Linked DNA regions of Homo sapiens: region 1 is linked to region 2. Evidence: promoter capture Hi-C in 16 types of primary human blood cells and fetal thymus (Javierre and others, 2016). All regions are on one chromosome and are shown on one strand. Each heading gives the region's core, a stretch centred on a gene start or on the middle of the fragment in contact. The rest is flanking DNA. Distances are from core to core; before and after follow the strand shown.

Region 1 (5,915 bases), core at 1,897-4,396, 370 kb after region 2:
GCAGATGTTTTTTTGGTAGAATAATTTATTTTCCTTTGGGTATATACCCAGTAATGGGATTGCTGAGTCAAATGGTAATTCTGTTTTTAGTTCTTTGAAAAATCTGTGAACTCTGTTAGTTCAGAGGCTGAACTAACTTAACAGTTCCATCAACAGTGTATAAGTGTTCCCTAAATAGGATAAATAACTATTGAATGAGTAAATAAAGCATATTTATTGAGAAGTAGAGCCTCAGTAAATATCACCCTCTCCTGAGGGTTTGTATTATATACAGGGATTTTACAGACATTGCAGAAACCTGACCATTATTGAATTATTGTAAAGTATTAGCTATTGGTTTGTTGAATAGCTTTCAGTTTGCTGTGAGAATGATTGATTCAGCAGCCTCTTTACCAATTTGTTGTGTACTTAGTGTTTTCAGGTCTTCTCTAGGGACTATCTCTGAAAAACCCCAGAGTAATGTTTTGATCTAAAGTGTAAACTAGAGTAAACCTTAAAACTGTGATTTATTTACTTTATTTTGTTTATTTATTTTTTTGAGATGGAATGTTGCTCTGTCACCCAGGCTGGAATGCAGTAGTTTGATCTCGGCTCACTGCAGCCTCTGCCTCCCAGGTTCAAGGGATTCTCCTTCCTCAGCCTCCTGAGTAGCTGGGACTACAGGCGTGTGCCACCACACCCAGCTAATTTTTTGTATTTTTAGTAGAGATGGGGTTTCACCGTGTTGGCCAGGCTGGTTTGAATTCCTGAACTCAGCTGATCCACCCACCGAGGCATCCCAGGGTGCTGGGGTTACAGGTGTGAGCCACCGTGCCTGGCCAAAACTGTGAATTTTTTTTTTTTTTTTTGAGACGGAGTCTTGCACTGTTACCCAGGCTGGAGTGCAGTGGCTCAATCTCGGCTCACCGCAACCTCCACCTCCCAGGTTCAAGCAATTCTCCTGTCCCAGCCTCCTGAGTAGCTGGGATTACAGGTGCATGCCACAACACCTGGCTAATTTTTTTGTATTTTTAGTAGAGAGGAGGTTTCACCATGTTGGCCAGGCTGGTCTCGAACTCCTGACCTCAAGTGATCCACCCCTCTCAGCCTCCCAAAGTGCTGTGCTGGGATTACATGCATGATTCACTGCTCTCAGCCATAACTGTGATATTTAAAGTTATTAAAATGCAAGAGTATTATGCTTGCTCAATCTACGTAGTAGATGTTTGTTATAGCTTACTCTCAATTTTTTTTTTTTTTTGAGACGGAGTTTTGCTGTATTACCCAGGCTAGGGTGCAATGGCCCAATATCGGCTCACTGCAACCTCTGGCTCCTGGGTTTCAGTGATTCTCCTGCCTCAGCCTCCCGAATAGCCGGGATTACCGAATGTGCCACCACGCCTGGCTAATTTTTGTATTTTTAACAGAGACGAGGTTTCACCATGTTGGCCAGGCTGGCCTCAAACTGCTGACCTTAGGTGATCCACCCACCTCAGCCTCCCAAAGTGCTAGGATTACAGGTGTGAGCCACCACACCCGGCTTGCTTACTCTCAGTGTTTTATAAACATTACCAAAGAAGCATGTCATATAAGGCCTTAAACTCGTTATCCTTTGTCTTGGACTTAAAGCTTTTCTTTTCTTTTCTTTTCTTTTTTTTTTTTTGAGTCTCACTCTGTTGCCCAGGCTGGAGTGCAATGGCATGATCTCCACTTACTGCAACCTCCACCTCCCAGGTTCAAGTGATTCTCCTTCCTCAGCCTCCCAAGTAGCTGGGATTACAGGTGCTCACCACCACACCTGGCTAATTTTTTGTATTTTTAGTAGAGATGGGGTTTCACCATGTTGGCTAGGCTGGTCTTGAACTCTTGACCTCAGGTGATCCACCTGTCTTAGCCTCCCAAAGTGCTGGGATTACAGGCATGAGCCACCACACCTGGCCCTGAAGCTTAGCTTTTCTGAATATAAGATGTGACTAGGACCAATTGTGGCTTCTTGGTTTAAAAACTCAACCTGGCTGAGCATGGTGGCCCATGCCTGTAATCCCAGCACTTTGGGAGGACTGCTTGAGGCCGGGAGTTCCAGACCAGCCTAAGCAACATAGTGAAACTATATCTGTACTAGAAATACATGGTGGTGCGGTGGCACGCACCTGTGGACCCAGTGACTTCAGAGGCTGAGGTGGGAGGAGGATCACTTGAGCCCAGGAGGCTGAGGTTGGAGTGATTTGAGATTGCGCCACTACACTGCAGCCCAGGAGACAGAGTGAGATCCTGTCTCAAAACGAAACAAAACTCAGCCAAATGCTAAATGCCTCTAAATTACATGTAATTTTCAGTAGAACATTCCAGATTCTTCCCATAAGCAAGAATGAAACAGAAAAATTTAAGATTATATAATCCAAATAGTAAAACTTTCTGAATTATAAGGATATATCGACTGTTACGAATATATTTTATGCTGGGCCTATAGTATGCATGTATACATAGTCTTGTATAATCTGAATGCTTTTCATTATAATCCATTTTGTTTTCCTGATGATGCCTTTCTTGATTTTTTTGTCCCATTCAGCAATAACAAGTATTTCTTACTCAAAAAGGCATAATGCAGGTGAAAGAGTTAGGGGGAAAGAAATAAACAAGTGGTGAGTTGATATGAGAAGGGCCTCCAGAATCCTAAATCAAATGGTCGTATTTAGGACATGTTGATCTAATGAAGAAAGCACTGAATATGTTTTGGTTCCAGTTTTGTTCTGGTGATATTTGGGGCAAGAAAGATGAGGAAAATACAGTTATTCAAATTTTAATTAACTCATCCTTAGAATTTGGAGGATTGGGCCGGTGGTGGCTCGTGCCTGTAATCCCAGCACTCTGCTGTGAGTTCAAGGCGGGTGGATCGCTTGAGGTCAGGAGTTCAAGACCAGCCTGGTGAAACTCCGTCTCTACTAAAATACAAAAATTAGCCAGGCATGGTGGCGGGCACCTGTAATCCCAGCTGCTAGGGAGGCCGAGGCAGGAGAATTGCTTGAACCTAGAAGGTGGAGGTTACAGTCAGCCAATATCACACCACTGCATTCCATCCTAGGCGACAGAGCGAGGCTCTGTCTCAAAAAAAAAAAAGAATTTGGGGGATTGAATTTTTGTTTTTTGTTTTTTTTTTGAGACAGAGTCTTGCTACGTCACCAGATTGAAGTGATGTGGCGCGATCTTGGCTCACTGCAGCAAGGCTCAGCCTCCCGAGTAGCTGGGACCCCCGGCACATAGTACCATGCCCAACTATTTTTTTGTATTTTTAGTAGAGGCAGGGTCTTGCCACGTTGCCCAGGCCGGTCCTGAACTCCTGAGTTCAAGCCATCCTCTTGCCCTGGTCTCCCACAGTGCTGGGATTACAGCCACTGCGCTCAGCCAAGGATTGTATGTTTTTAACTTAAATGTGACATTATCTAATTTTTTTTTAACATAGAGAATTACAGCTGTGTTCTGTGCCTTCAGCAATACTAAATTATGACAAAACTTTATTGAAGTACAAAAAATATAAGTAATTGCACGTACATTGCATTTATGTAGGACTGTAAAAGACAGGAGAAGGAATAGAATGCCAGTATTAATGCTGGATATTTTATGTGACTCACATTTTCCTCAAGTCAAATCTGTAAGGTCAGTATTATTGGCTTCATTTTACAGATGAAGAAATGGATGCTAAGAGAAGCTAAGTAACCTCCCTACCAATGTCCTGAAACCAGGAAATCAAAAAGTCAGAATTTGAATCTAGGTCCTTAACACTAAAGCCTATTCAACTTTCTACTACATTTATAGAAACAATACACATTTATGAGTGTTCGTTTAGTTTTTTAAAGTTTTCTTTTTTCTCCATTTTTTTATTTTGAAAAAATTAGAAAGAAAAACTTGGCCGGGTGCGGTCGCTCATACCTGTAATTCCAGCACTTTGGGAAGCCGAGGCAGGCAGATCACTTGAGGCCCTGAGTTTGAGACCAGCCTGGCCAACATGGCGAAACCCCATCACTACTAAAAATACAAAAATTAGCTGGAAGTGGTGGCGCACACCTGTAATCCCAGCTACTCTGGCAGCTGAGGCACAATAATCGCTTGAACCTGGGAGGCAGAGGTTGCAGTGAGCTGAGATTGCGCCACTGCACTCCAGCCTGGGTGACAGAGTGAGGCTCTGTCTCAAAAAAAAAAAAAAAAAAAGAGTTCTATGGGCTTACTTGGTAATAAAATAAATATATAAAATTATATATATATGCATCTACATATTCTAGGTTTTTAGGAGGAAGAAAACAATCCTTTTTCTTTTACATCTTGAAATTAACGAATATACTTTTTAGATTTGAAGTTTTGTTGTCCTATTCCCAACCACTTACATAAGCTTGTTTCTTTTTTAGGAAGATGCCCAGGATATGGATGCCTATACCCTGGCCAAGGCCTACTTTGACGTTAAAGAGTATGATCGGGCAGCACATTTCCTGCATGGCTGCAATAGCAAGAAAGCCTATTTTCTGTATATGTATTCCAGATATCTGGTGAGGGCCATTTTAAAATGTCATTCTGCCTTTAGTGAAACATCCATATTTAGAACCAATGGAAAAGTTAAATCTTTTAAATAGCTTAGCAGTGGGCCACTGAATGAATGTACTTTATACATAGCAATAATAAAAAAAAGATATCATAAATAAAGTTAAAAAGGATGGTAGAGAAGAAAATATTCTTAGGAATGACTAACAGGATAAGTAACAACCTGATTATTTATTTACTTTAGGTTATATAAGGTTCTTCATGCCTGTGAATTAATATTATTGTGTAAGAATTAAGTTAAAAAGCCTGGGCTGACTTTTAAATTTATAAATTCATTTATCATGTTTATAGTATATTTATTGTTTTTCTTTCATGGCTATTAAAAAGTATGACTGTAAAGGACAATGCAAGTAAACCAACTTAATACTGTATTGAATAATAAGTACAATTTATTATTTTACTTTGAAACATTATGAATTTACTTTCCTACTTTTTCTTAGTTGTTATCTATATAAATTGATTAAAAAAACATTTTATGTACTTCTCATTTCCTAGTACAGGTTGAGTATCCCTTATTTGAAGTGCTTGGGACCAAAAGTGTTTCAGATTTCAGATTTTTTTCAGATTTTGGTATATTTGCATTATACTTACTGGTTGAAATAAAAAATGCTGCAGTGAGTGTCATTGGTGCTTTGAGTGTCATTGGTGCTGAAAAAGTTTTGGGTTTTGGAGCAATGCAGATTTCAGATCTTATGATTTAGGTTGATCAACTATTAGCATAGCTTGTATTTGTCAAGCGTGGTAAATTCTTGCAGTTATGGACTATGTTTAAGTCATCTTTGTTTTTTTTTTTTTTTTCCAATTTACCATTTTAACATTTTTAAAGTGTACAGTTCAGTGGTATTAAATGCATTCATAATGTGCAACCATCACCACCACCCATCTCTAGAACATTTTTTATCTTGTAAAACTAAAATTCTATACCCATTAAACAATAACTCTCCATTTTTCCCTTTCCCCAAGGTGGACCCCTTGGCAACCACTATTCTATTTTCTGTTTCTATGATCTGGACTACTCTAAGTACCTTACATAAGTGGAATCATGCAGTATTAGTCTCTTTGTGACTGGCTTATTTCACTTACCATAATGCTGTCAAGTTTCATCCATGTTGTAGCATATATAAGAATTTCCTTTTTTAAAGTTTAATAATATTCCATTGTATTTATATACCACAGTTTGCTTATCTCCATGAGTTTAAGAAAGATATTTTGAAATTATGGGATTTAAAAAGTTAATCTTTCACATACAATCTATACCTGTGTAGAAGCACTAATTTGGATGAGTTATGGTAGAATAGAACCAGCATTTGCTGAAGTTTGGGATAAAATAAAGTTCCTTAAGGCAA
Region 2 (5,341 bases), core at 1,674-4,173:
GCTGGTCTCGGACTCCTGACATCAGGTGATCCACCCGCCTCAGCATCCCAAAGTGCTGGGATTACAGGCGTGAGCCACCACGCCCGGCCGCATCTTTCTTTTCTCTCTTTCTCTTTCCTTCCTTTCCTTATTTCCTTTTCTCCTTCCTTCTTTCCCTCCTTCCCTCCCTCCTTCCTTCCTTTCTCCTTTCTTTCTGTTTTTTTGTTTTTTGTTTTTTTTAATGTCTCGCTGTGTCACCCAGACTGGAGTGAAATGGCACAATCATAATCACGACTCACTGCAGCCTCGACCTCTCTTGGCTCAGGTGATTCTTCCACCTCAGCCTCCCGAGTAGCTGGTAGCTGGGACTACAGGTGCACCACCATGCCCGGCTAATTTTTTGTAGAAATGGGGTTTTGCCATGTTGCCCAGGCTGTTCTCAAATTCCTGAACTCAAGTGATCCTCCCACTCCAGCCTCCCAAGTAGGTGGGACTACAGGTGCTTGCTACCATGCCCAGCCAATTTAAAAAAAAAAAAAAAAAAAATTGGCCGGCCGCAGTGGCTCACGCCTGTAATTCCAGCATTTGGGATGCCGAGGCGGGCGGATCCCTTGAGTTCAGGAGTTGGAGACCAGCCTGGGCAACAAGGCGAAACCCCGTCTCTACGAAAAATACAAAAATTAGCCAGGCGTAGTGCCGCATGTCTGTAATCCCAGCTACTCGGGGGAGGGGGGCGCTGAGGCGGCACTGGAATCATCTGAGCCCAGAGAGGTGGAGGCTGCAGTAAGCTGAGACTGCACCACTACACTGCAGCCTGGGCGACAGAGGCTAAAGATGGAGTCTCACTCTGTCGCTCAGGCTGATCTCGAACTCCTGGGTTCAAGTGATCCTCCCACCTCGGCCTCCCAAAGTGCTGGGATTACAGGCGTGAGCCACCGCCTGGCCACCCCTGCCTTCTGAGAGAACTAAAAACAAGAGAAATGAAGTGTTAAGTAACTAGTGAGGATAATATAGTAATAGCTGACAGTTAAGAGTGTGTGGGAGGCTTTTTAAAAACTTTTAGAATCTATATAATCTATAACCCATGTTACGTTAGACTTTTGTTTATTTTCTTACTCCCACTGCCATCCTCCTCAGAATGTAAACTCTTCAGTTAGCTTCTTTCCCTCCCCAACTTTCCCCAACATTTCCTTCACAGTTCCTCACCCAGGGGTGACTACTTAATAATACAGATCTTCCTGAAGAGATAGGGGGTCTGAAACATTTCTCTTTTTTTGAAAGCGGGCTTCCAGGACAAATTGCTTCATCTCCAAAATCAAGTTCAATCTGTCATCAGCCATTCGTTCGTGTTTTGCTTTCGCTGTATTCCTACCACCTGGGAGAGTGACTGACACACGGTAGGCATGCCAAAACATATCTGTTGAATCAATTAATTCCTCTTCTTAAAAATCTAAAACTGGGTTGGGCGCGGTGGCTCACGCCTGTAATCCCAGCACTTTGGGAGGCCGAGGCAGGCAGATCACGAGGTCAGGAGATCGAGACCATCCTGGCCAACATGGTGAAACCCGGTGTCTACCAAAAATATAAAAATTAGCTGGGCGTGGTGGCGCGCGCCTGTAATCCCATCTACTTGGGAGGCTGAGGCAGGAGAATAGCTTGAACCAGGGAGTCAGAGGTTGCAGTGAGCCGAGATGGCGCCACTGCACTCAAGCCTGGCGACAAAGACTGCCTCAAAAAAAAAAACAAAAACCTAAAAACTGGTCACAGGGTAGTGAAGTAGTTGACATCCTGCCACCAGCACAAGGTTTAAAAAGGGCCAGAGGAGTCTCAAGTCAGGCCCAGCACAGTGGGGAGAGGAAGAGCCTGAAGCTCAGCTATTTTTCTTTTTTTTCTTGAGACGGAGTCTCGCTCTGTCGCCCAGGCTGGAGTGCAGTGGCGCGATCTCGGCCCACTGCAAGCTCCGCCTCCCGGGTTCACGCCGTTCTCCTGCCTCAGCCTCCCGAGTAGCTGGGACTACAAGCGCCTGCCACCACGCCCGGCTACTTTTTCGTATTTTCAGTAGAGACGGGGTTTCACCGTGTTAGCCAGGATGGTCTCGATCTCCTAACCTCGCGATCCGCTCGCTTCGGCCTCCCAAAAGTGCTGGGATTACAGGCGTGAGCGCCCGGCCAAGCTCAGCTATTTTTTTTTCCCTTTGTGCAGGCTAATTGGCCTAATGTTCTGTGTGAATCAAACGCTTCGTAGTTGGAAACCCAAGACCCCTGTGATAAAACGCAACACGAAATTGTTTAACGTCTGTCTGCATATCCAAGTGTCTTTCAAGTTGTGAACAACGGGCGGGACCAAACAACAAAAGTACTGACGTCCTCACTTCACAAAGCCACAAGACAAGATGGCGCCGTCCTCCAGGAGCGGGAGCTGGGAACACGTCCACGCCCGGGGGGTGTGCACGCGCCCGGGCTCGCCCCAGGGAACGCTGGCGTGCACTCGGGCACCCAGTGAGCGCCGCAGTTAGTCTCCACCCATGTTTTCCGCCACTCCTTGCGCACATGCGCTCTAGGTTCTTAGCTGGATGTCTGTTGCGCCAACAGGCTCCTCCTCCCGCGCAACTGACGCAAGAAGACTGTAATCGGTTCGCAATTTATCCCGTGTGACCTTGAGTCTTTCCTGTCGCCGAGGACCGGGGCTGTCCGAGATACGGCCTTCATATCCCTCTTCCTCCCCTGGACTCTTTCTGAGCTCAGAGCCGCCGCAGCCGGGACAGGAGGGCAGGCTTTCTCCAACCATCATGCTGCGGAGCATATTACCTGTACGCCCTGGCTCCGGGAGCGGCAGTCGAGTATCCTCTGGTCAGGCGGCGCGGGCGGCGCCTCAGCGGAAGAGCGGGCCTCTGGGCCGCAGTGACCAACCCCCGCCCCTCACCCCACGTGGTTGGAGGTTTCCAGAAGCGCTGCCGCCACCGCATCGCGCAGCTCTTTGCCGTCGGAGCGCTTGTTTGCTGCCTCGTACTCCTCCATTTATCCGCCATGATAAGTGCCAGCCGAGCTGCAGCAGCCCGTCTCGTGGGCGCCGCAGCCTCCCGGGGCCCTACGGCCGCCCGCCACCAGGTGAGGAACTGGGACCTTCCCGAATGGGGTCACGGCCTCGGGCCTTGGGCCTCGGGCTTCGCTGCGGCAGGCCGCGCGCCCTTTAGGGTTTGAATTCTCCAGTATAGGTCAGGCGGGAAGGAAGGTAACGGGCCTTCCATAGTTAGCGCTGCCGGGTCAAGATTTTGCCCAAGGTTTTGCCTCCGGCTTGGGCCCTGCTGAGTCACACCCCTCGCGATCTAGAGTGTCATTTCAAAATTACCAGGTAGTGGTCCTCATGGCCTGTTCTGTGGCTGAATGGAAAGGTTTGGCCTTGGGGGTGAGGGATGCAGTCTATTGGGAAAGCCACTATTTTCAGTTTTATTTTTGGCTCCTCTACAGAATACAGAGTGTGTAAGGATCCCGTTGATACGGTGAAATAAAATAAGAAAGCTCTGAGTCGGAACTCCAGTTTTCGTGCTTAGCAACATTTTCTCAAAATCTGTGGTGTAAGATTGTACTCGTTTGTTACTTCAGAAAAAAAAGCAGATCGTGGGGCGGAGAAAAGGCTATGGAGTGGTTACTTGTTTTCTAAAATAAAAGACAAATGCTTTAGAGAACAGGAATTGTATGTGGGCATTAAGGAAGGCTTGGAAGGAGCCTGAGGTTAAGTTGTAATAAAGGTCTTTTATCCTAGTGAAACGCCACTACTTTTCTTTTTTCTTTCAAAGACCCTTAGTAACTCTAGTTCTTTTAAACTAATTGCACGGCAAGGTAAGGGGAAGTGTTTTCCCCCAGGGGACATCTGGCAATGTCTGTGGATATTTTAGGTTGTCACTTACTTACTGGGGTGCTTATTGGTTTCTAGGGTGTCGAGGCCAGGGATGCTGCTGTATATCCTACAATGCACAGAACAGCCCCCACCACAAAAATTTCGCCCAAAATTAATAGCGCCACGGTTGAGAAATCCTACTGTAATGTGATTCTAAGGCCATCTTTTATTTACCTTTTTTCGTCTTACTTATTTGGGAAACTTTAATATTTACTGTTTTAGTAGCTTAATGTATTTTATATACTAAGTGAGCCCAAGTTTTCTCTTTTTCCTCCCAGGATACACACTGGTTGGTGACTGAGTCAGTTTTTTCTTTTTTAGGATAGCTGGAATGGCCTTAGTCATGAGGCTTTTAGACTTGTTTCAAGGCGGGATTATGCGTAAGTATAATATCATTTCCTTTGAGAGGGAATACATATTAAACTTCAAAGCAGTGTTTTCTACATTTGTGATTATTCTTCTCTGTAATTATTTATCTGTATTTATTTAGAGATTATGTAGTATACCACTGTTAATTTTCCAATTAAATATTATCTTCCAGTGACTTTGGTCTATCAAGATAACAATAGCTGTGACACTGTTCTAAATGTCTTACAGATCAGAAGCAATCAAGGGAGCAGTTGTTGGTATTGATTTGGGTACTACCAACTCCTGCGTGGCAGTTATGGAAGGTAAACAAGCAAAGGTGAGCATGATTGATAACTAGTACCTTATCCAGAATCTGTCCAGAATTCTGTGCTCTTTTCCTTAGTTAAGGAATTTGAGAACCTGATTTGCGCTTTTTTTTTTTTTTTTTTTTTTTTTTTGGAGACAGTCTCTATAGCCCATGGTGGAGTGCAGTGGCACGGTCTCCGCTCACTGCAACCTCTGCCTCCTGGGTTCAAACAGTTCTCCTGCCTTGGCCACATAGCTGGGATTACAGGCATGAACCACCATTCCTGGCTAATTTTTTGTATTTTCAGTAGAGACAGTTCCACTGTGTTGGCCAGGCTGGTCTTGAGCTCAAGTGATCCGCCCACGTTGGCCTCCAAAGTGCTGGGATTACAGATGTGAACCACTAAGCCTGGCCTCGAAGTACTTCCAACTAAAACAGCAAAAACATAACTATAGATCAGGGCTGACCGGGCATAATGGCTCACGCCTGCAGTCCCAGCACTTTGGGAGGCCAAGGGGGGTGGATTACCTGAGGTCCCAAGTTCAAGACCAGCCCGGCCAAAATGGTGAAACCCCGTCTCTACTAAAAATGCAAAAAATTGGCCGGGTACAGTGGCTCACACCTGAAATCCTAGCACTTTGGGAGGCCAAGGCGGGTGGATCACAAGGTCAAGAGATCGAGACCATTCTGGCCAACATGGTGAAACCTGTCTCTACTAAAAATACAAAAATTAGCTGGGCGTAGTGGCACACACCTGTAGTCCCCGCTACTCGGGAGGCTGAGGCAGGAGAATCGCTTGAACCCAGGAGG

The links. Contacts are between HindIII fragments. The CHiCAGO score rates a contact against its expected background, and 5 or more counts as called.
Region 1: a contact is called between a fragment that was not itself captured here and the fragment with the promoter of HSPA9 in region 2, in 1 of 17 cell types (neutrophils). The highest score is 5.5, in neutrophils.

The regions. Positions count from the first base shown.
Region 1 is chr5:138,205,149-138,211,063 of GRCh38, reverse strand. It overlaps CDC23 (cell division cycle 23), which reads left to right. Exons shown (of 16, transcript NM_004661.4): 3 at 4,380-4,517. Among named protein-coding and RNA genes, the nearest start is that of CDC23, 5.2 kb to the left of the region's middle. The HindIII fragment of the contact is 2,438 bases long and covers 1,928-4,365 here.
Region 2 is chr5:138,572,983-138,578,323 of GRCh38, reverse strand. It overlaps HSPA9 (heat shock protein family A (Hsp70) member 9), which reads left to right and starts at 2,923. Exons shown (of 17, transcript NM_004134.7): 1 at 2,923-3,086; 2 at 4,198-4,256; 3 at 4,474-4,561. The coding sequence starts at 3,006. All of the region lies in intron 1 of LOC105379193 (a long non-coding RNA gene), which reads right to left. RefSeq lists enhancers at 2,329-2,468, 2,046-2,694, 2,609-2,888, 3,129-3,178, 2,695-3,342. The HindIII fragment of the contact is 10,827 bases long and covers 1-5,341 here.